Regions from separate parts of the Homo sapiens genome. Here region 2 is linked to region 1. The links are contacts of gene promoters, found by promoter capture Hi-C in human tissues and cell types (Jung and others, 2019). All regions are on one chromosome and are shown on one strand. The core of a region is centred on a gene start or on the middle of the fragment in contact, and the rest is flanking DNA. Distances in the headings are between cores, read along the strand shown.

What was found. The method cuts DNA at HindIII sites, captures the fragments that hold promoters and counts their contacts. A contact is called where the count stands out against the background at its distance.
Region 2: a fragment that was not itself captured here is called in contact with the fragment with the promoter of UBAC1 in region 1 in 2 of the 25 tissues and cell types used here (dorsolateral prefrontal cortex and lymphoblastoid cells).

Annotation. Positions count from the first base shown.
Region 1 is chr9:135,959,583-135,962,950 of GRCh38, forward strand. UBAC1 (UBA domain containing 1) reads right to left here and starts at 1,791. Exons shown (of 10, transcript NM_016172.3): 1 at 1,443-1,791. The coding sequence starts at 1,580. RefSeq lists silencers at 1,401-1,520, 1,531-1,940 and an enhancer at 1,411-1,911. The HindIII fragment of the contact is 18,279 bases long and covers 1-3,368 here.
Region 2 is chr9:136,152,371-136,155,738 of GRCh38, forward strand. No RefSeq gene overlaps it. Among named protein-coding and RNA genes, the nearest start is that of TMEM250, 35 kb to the left of the region's middle. RefSeq lists an enhancer at 13-581. The HindIII fragment of the contact is 8,476 bases long and covers 1-3,368 here.

The DNA.
Region 1 (3,368 bases), core at 541-3,040:
CAAGATGGCCTCAATCTCCTGACCTCATAATCCGCCCACCTCGGCCTCCCAAAGTGCTGGGATTACAAGTGTGAGTTACCGTGCCCGGCCCAGAGAAGTTTTTTAAAATACACACAACTAGACAAGCAACACCACCTGGCTCAAACAGCCTGGATGCCCACGGAGTTACCGGCGCTGGAGCTTAGTGATGCCCCGATGGTTGTTCAGACGGCAAAATCATGCAGACTGGGGCAGAAGAAAAGCAAGAAAGCAGCCAAAACATACCGGCCCTTGAACGCAGGAGGCTCAGCCCCCTCCTTGGTGTGAATCCTGAGGCCAGCACCTCCCAGTTATTCACAGCCAGTGCGTTCCAGAAGGGGGCTTGCCAAGCTTGCCTCTGACAGTTCCAGAACTCCACAGAACCATGCTCACAAAAGCAACTCGAAAGTACTGTATGCGAGCAGCTACTATGGTAAGAACTGAAGTTTATCCTTAGAGACCACACTCAGCTCAAGTGTAACGCACTCAACCTGTCAACACAGATACGTCGTAACTTATCACATGGAGTCGCCACTAGAAAATTGCAGCCTCCTTCAACCTAAATTCTGCCAAGCCCTCAGATCATGTCAGGTATAGACAGGAGGTCAGTCTGACACACAGACAGGCTTCTTAGCTGACCTTACTGAGTCCTTTAGAGACTCGAGAACTAGTTCCAAAAATCAGCAACCTAAGGAACTAAATACACAGGAGTATTTCAGGTGAATAAACTTTAAAAAGTGTCTCCGCGAGGAGACCCTACTCCTGGGACTTCTCTCTTGACCAATTTTACCTCTGCAGAAAAGCAGGGGCGCAGGGCCTTGTCCCGCAGCGGCACTATTTCAGGGACTCCAGCTAAAAGGCACAGTGGCCTGGGGCCAGCCAGGAAAAGAGCTCCAAGCAGCCGGCTCTGCGGGAAAGGGGAAGAGGAAGGAGAAGGGGCCTCTTCATGAAGGAGCCTACGTTAATTCTCAGCTCTCAAAGATGCTGCTGAAAAAAAACCTCACCCCAACAGCAAAAAGGTACAACTGCCGGAAAGTCCCGAGGCCCTGCTCCGTCGGCGACTTCACTCTCCAGGCCTCAGTTTCCCGATCTGCCCCTACCTCCCTGCGTGGCTGCAGAGTTAACTGAGAGGCTGGCGTGTACAGGGCTCGGCCGGGCGGCTGGCACGGGGCGAGCGCTTAGTGACCGGAGTCCGCCGGCCGAAAGGCCAGGCCCGGGACGAGCGTCCAGAGGTGTGGGATCCGAAAGGGGGAGAGTCGGGCAAACGGGCAGGAGGCGCTGCCTCCACCCCCGGAGGAGAGGGCCTGGGAGCTGCGGACTGGGCGGCGGACCCCAGGTCGGGGCGGTTCGGGGACTGAGGCGGGGTCCGCAGTCGGAGGGGTCCGGAGCGGGTGTTGGGGGCAGGGGAGGGGGCCCGGCCTTACGTGCTTGAGGCAGCGCTCCTTGAGCTTCTCCACCGAGGTGTCCTCGGTGGCCTCCTCCAGCCACTCGGCGCCGTCGGACGCGCAGATGTGCAGCCGCAGCACCTTGCCCGCGAAGATCTTCTCCTCCTGCACGAACATCCCGCCGCCGCCGCAGGGGCCTGCGCCCGCCACCCGGGCCCCTGAAGGTCACCGGGAAGGCGGGCGGGGAGGGGGCGGGGCCAGACCGCCCGCGCGCTCCTTCGCTGGGCCGCCGCCCCGCCCCGGCTCCCGTCGGCCGGGCCGCCGTCACTCTCCGCGGCCTCAGCGGTCGCCTCGCTCCCGCCGCCGCAGCAGCCGCCGGGGGCGCGCCGTCGCGGCCGCACCGGAAGTGCGTCACGGGCGCGTCTGGCGCATGCCGGGAGATGTGGTTCTCGGACAGGCGCCTCGCTCCCGCCGCCGGGGGCGCGCTGTGGCCACCGCAAAGGAAGTGCGTCACGGGGCGCGCCCGGAGCATGCCGGGAGCTGTAGTTCTCTGGTAGCTTCGTTCCTCCCCGAGCTGCAGGCGGTTCCCACCCGGGGCACTCACCACGTGGGACCTCATGGGTTCTAAAGGTAAAATACACGCTGGATCCCAAAGAAGTAACGGGAAAAAGGAATGTAAGGCATCTCGATAATGTTTTCATATTGATTACATGTTGAAATAATATTTTGTATCTATTGAGTTAAGAAAAATATGTCATTAAAATTAATTTCACCTGTTTCTTTTAACCTTTTTAAGATAGAATTTTAAATTGCCTACATGGCTGCTGTGATATTTCTTTTGCACTGCACTGCTGTAGAACGGAGGCTCTCCAAAGAACTTGGCTTTAACAAGCCTAGGTCTTTCTAATTCACACGCAGATCAGAGAGTCACTGTTCCTGCGAAGCCTAGGTTTGCGGGGCACCCAGAGGGGAGGGAAGCCGCCCTTGGTGCAGGTGATGCCAGGCAGACTCATTTTCTGTGGGGTGTGACAAAGAGTCTTTGCTTGGCCAAACTTAAGCAGGCTCCTGAACCTTCTACATCATCTGTACACTTCCTTGTAAAATCCAGTTTTAGCGAAGAGCCTTGATAAGTGAGTTTAGCAAGAACTCCCAGCCTCAATATCAGATCACCCTGGACGTCTGGTCAGGTTCCTCGTCCCCCAGGTGCTGTCTGATATCTCCAGCCTCTCTTCAGCAAGAACCCTGTCAGGTCGGTTTAGCCAGAACCGCCCACATCCCTGATGTTTTCTCCTATTAATTTTCCATTCACTGACCCCACCCACTTGCCCTTGCTGTATTGGGAGTTGAGCCTGACCTCTCTCCCCACTGCAAGCCCCCTTGGCAGTGGTCTCTGTACCTAGCTCAACAGTCCTGGATAACGTCTTACTTACCATGCTCCTAAATATGAATTTTGTAGTTCAGGTTAGACCTGACACATTGACTGATCTGTACTCATTCATCCCATTCATTTAAAAAAACTTTACTGCGCAGAGATGAATAAGGCACAGTTCCCGTTCTCAGAGGTTAGCAATCTAACCGGGGAGGCTGTCTCTGCCTCCTGCCTGCAGGCTTTTATTCTGTCCACACCATTTTGCACACACATCCTCATTTTTCTCCTGTGATAATTCCAACCTCGTCCAGATTCCATGTGTCCAGTTCAGCACTTACTAATTGCCTCTCACAGGTGGGAGCCTCTGCTACTCAATGAAAATATGGTAGTGATTAAGACCAGACACCAGGATACAGTCCTGGAATGGGGCATTTTTAACGCAGGAAGCAGAAGTACCGACTGTTAGAGACCGCAGTGGAGGTGGTGGTAGTATCGTGGAAGCTGGTGGAGGAGAAAGGGGAGGAACACCAAGGTGGTGAGTGGAGAGTGGGGGAAGCTAGAGGGCTTGGAGGAGCCGGGTCAGAGCATTAAGACGT
Region 2 (3,368 bases), core at 238-2,737, 190 kb after region 1:
TCGGGGCCTGGTCTGTGACGGGGATCGGGGTCTGGTCTGTGATGGGGATCGGGGTCCGGTCTGTGATGGGGATCGGGGCCTGGTCTGGATCAGGGTCCGGCCTGTGACGGGGATCAGGATCTGGCCTGTGACGGGGATCAGGGTCCGGCCTGTGACGGGGATCAGGACCTGGTCTGTGATGGGGATCAGGGCCTGGTCTGTGATGGGGATCAGGGTCCAGCCTGTGACGGGGATCAGGACCTGGTCTGAGACAGGAATCAGGGCCTGGTCTCTGATGGGGATCAAGGCCTGGTCTGAGACAGGGATCAGGGCCTGGTCTGTGATGGAAATCAGGGCCTGGTCTGTGACAGGGATCGGGGCCTAGTCTGAGGCAGAGATCAAGATCGATGGCCAGGGTCGGGGTCAGAGTTTGAGAGGAACAGGGCTCAATGTGTGGCTGTGGTCAGGAAGGGCTGGCTGAGCAGCAGTGAGCTCAGGGAGGCTGGAGGAGCTAGGAAGGAGAATGAGGCTCCAGAGAGGCCAGAGGAGTGGATTTGTCACTCGACCACAGCAGAACGTGGGCTGAGGAGGGGGAACTGCCAGGCCAGGTCACGGGTGAGCCTCGTCGCTGGGCCTCAGCTTCGTAGATGCTCACCCTGACCATCCAGTGAATTCTCACTGAGGGGAAGAAGAAACCACCTCCTTTGAAGGGCTGGGCACAGCAGAGTGCCCCGGCTCTGCGACCCTCTGGGCCTGGGCACGAGACCTCCTGACTCCGTCCCCCACAGAGCCCTCACTTCAGGACTTAGCAGCTCAGAACCCCAGACCCTTCCCAGAACCAGGGCTCCACTGTCGCTGCCTGGGTGGTGCCCGCCCCTCACGCTGTCACCCACGTCTGAGGCTGGAGGGATCAGGAGAAAAGGGGCACACAGCTCAGAGATCCCCCTGAGCTGACCACAGGCCCAAGACTTCATTTTTCACAAGGGGAAACTGAGGCTCGGGGCCTGCAACCAGTATGTCCCACATCCCAGAGCTGGTGAGTGGCTACCCTGCCCATGGCACACGAGGCTGGGCTGGGGTGTGCGTGTCCACGCCGCACCTCTGCCAGGAGCCTGCCCCACCCAGCGGTGAGGCCCCTGGCATGAGAAGAAGTCTGGGCTCCTGGCCCGCCCTCAGTGCCAGCGGCTGCCCTGCCTGTCTTGCACACGGCTTTAGGCAAGGGCCGAAGGCTGCCCTGGCCGCCCCCTTCTGGAAGGGCCACCCGGCAGGTGGCAGAGACACTGCCATAAAAGGGGCTGCCAGGGCGGGGCAGGCTCTGCCACCTGCGGGCTTCAGGACCTCACCTCTCCTCCTGCAGTCTGCTCATCGGTGAAATGGACGGAACAGCAGCCCCTGCCCGAGGTGTGGCGGTGAAGCAAGCAGTCCCATGTCGGAGGCTTAGAGCGGAGCCCAGCACACAAGGAAGGGCCTGCACGGGTGGCTAGGTCTGGTGAGGAATGAGGTCTCCATGCACCACGTGTGTTAGGAGAGGAGCATGTCCTTCTTGGTACAGTAGCATCTGCTCCAGAACCAGTTTCAGACGCTGGATTAGAGTCCATGGGATCAAGAAGGGAGCCTCGTGGCCAGTCTCTCCCATCCCCCCATTCTCTCCCATCCCCCCAGTCTCTCCCGTCCCTCCAGTCTCTCCCATCCCCTGAGTCTCTCCCATCCCCTGAGTCTCTCCTGTCCCCCCAGTCTCTCCCATTCCCCCAGTCTCTCCCATCCTCCCAGTCTCTCCGGTTCCCCAGTCTTTCCTGTCCCCCCAGTCTCTCCCATCCCCCAGTCTCTTCCGTCCCCCCTCCTGTCCTTCCAGGCTCTCCCATCCCCCCAGTCTCTCCCATCCCCCCATTCTCTTCCATCCCCCCAGTCTCTCCCATTCCCCAGTCTCTCCCATCCCCCCAGTCTCTTCCATCCCCCAGTCTCTCCCCTCCCCCAGTCTCTTCCATCCCCCAGTCTCTCCCATCCCCCCAGTCTCTCCTGTCCTTCCAGGCTCTCCCATCCCCCCAGTCTCTTCCATCCCCCCAGTCTCTTCCGTCCCCCAGTCTCTCCCATCCCCCCAGTCTCTTCCGTCCCCCAGTCTCTCCCATCCCCCCAGTCTCTCCCATCCCCCAGTCTCTCCTGTCCCTCCAGTCTCTCCGCTCTCCCAGTCTCTCCCATCCCCCAGTCTCTCCTGTCCCTCCAGACTCTCCGGTCTCCCAGTCTCACCCATCCCCCAGTCTCTCCTGTCCCTCCAGTCTCTCCGGTCTCCCAGTCTCTCCCATCCCCCAGTCTCTCCTGTCCCTCCAGTCTCTCCGGTCTCCCAGTCTCTCCCATCCCCCAGTCTCTCCCCTCCCCTCTCTCCTGTCCTGCCCCTCCCCCGACATATTGGCAGCCGTCCGTGAGGGGGTCCGGAGGCCAGTGGTGTCCTTTGGACCCTTGTGGAAAATCCCCCCAGGGTCAGAAGGGCCCAGAGGGAAGACAGGACTCTGTGGAAGAGGTTGCCTGCCCATGGAGAGAGTCCAGATGCATTGTGGGCCCTGTGGGTTGGCCCTAGTCTCCGCCACTGGGACCTCAAGCTGGCCAAGGCCATGGCCAGGCCCTGGCTCCTAGGAGGGGTGAAACTGATGGCTGGACATGTACGTGGACGACAGCCTCCAGGGAGGGCTGTTCAACCCCCGGCACTGGTATCATTCTCTGCCCCCTGGAGCTCCTGGGAAGATCCGTTAAGCAAGTGGTGGGGCTTCCACGGCACGGAATATTACGCAGCTGTCAAAAACGACGTGTAGGAAGAGTTTCCAGTAACGCAGGGAGATCCCGTGGTGAGAAAAGGCTGGTTCAAAAACAGAATCTATAGGATGTCCTTGGTGTGCAAAGAACGAGTGTGGCAGAAAATGTGGGAGAGCAGCTGCCAGGATCCATGGATGGACGGGGAAGGGGTCGCTGTGTTTCTTCAACTTTTCTATATTTTGCAGATTTGGGATGATGAGCGCGTCTGACTCTGATAACCAGGGAAAAGTGGAAAATGAAATGGAAGTGGCCAGCAGTCAACAATCCATCAGTTTCCTCAACTGCTCTTTTAAACACGGGTGACCACACAGCCCAGAAACTCCCTTCCAGGGACTACCCGAGAGATTGAAGGCAGGCCCCACAGAGACGCGCCCAGCTCCTGCTCCTCAAACTGCTCCGTTAAACACGGGGTGACCACACAGCCCCGAGAGAATGAAGGCAGGCCCCACAGAGACACGCCCAGCTCACGGTCACAGCAGCATCATTTACAGCAGCCAAAAGGTGGAAACAGCCCAGGTGTCCTCCGGCAGACGGGTGGATTAACAAGCGGTCTAACTGCGCCATGGGGTATAATTTAGGCTTAA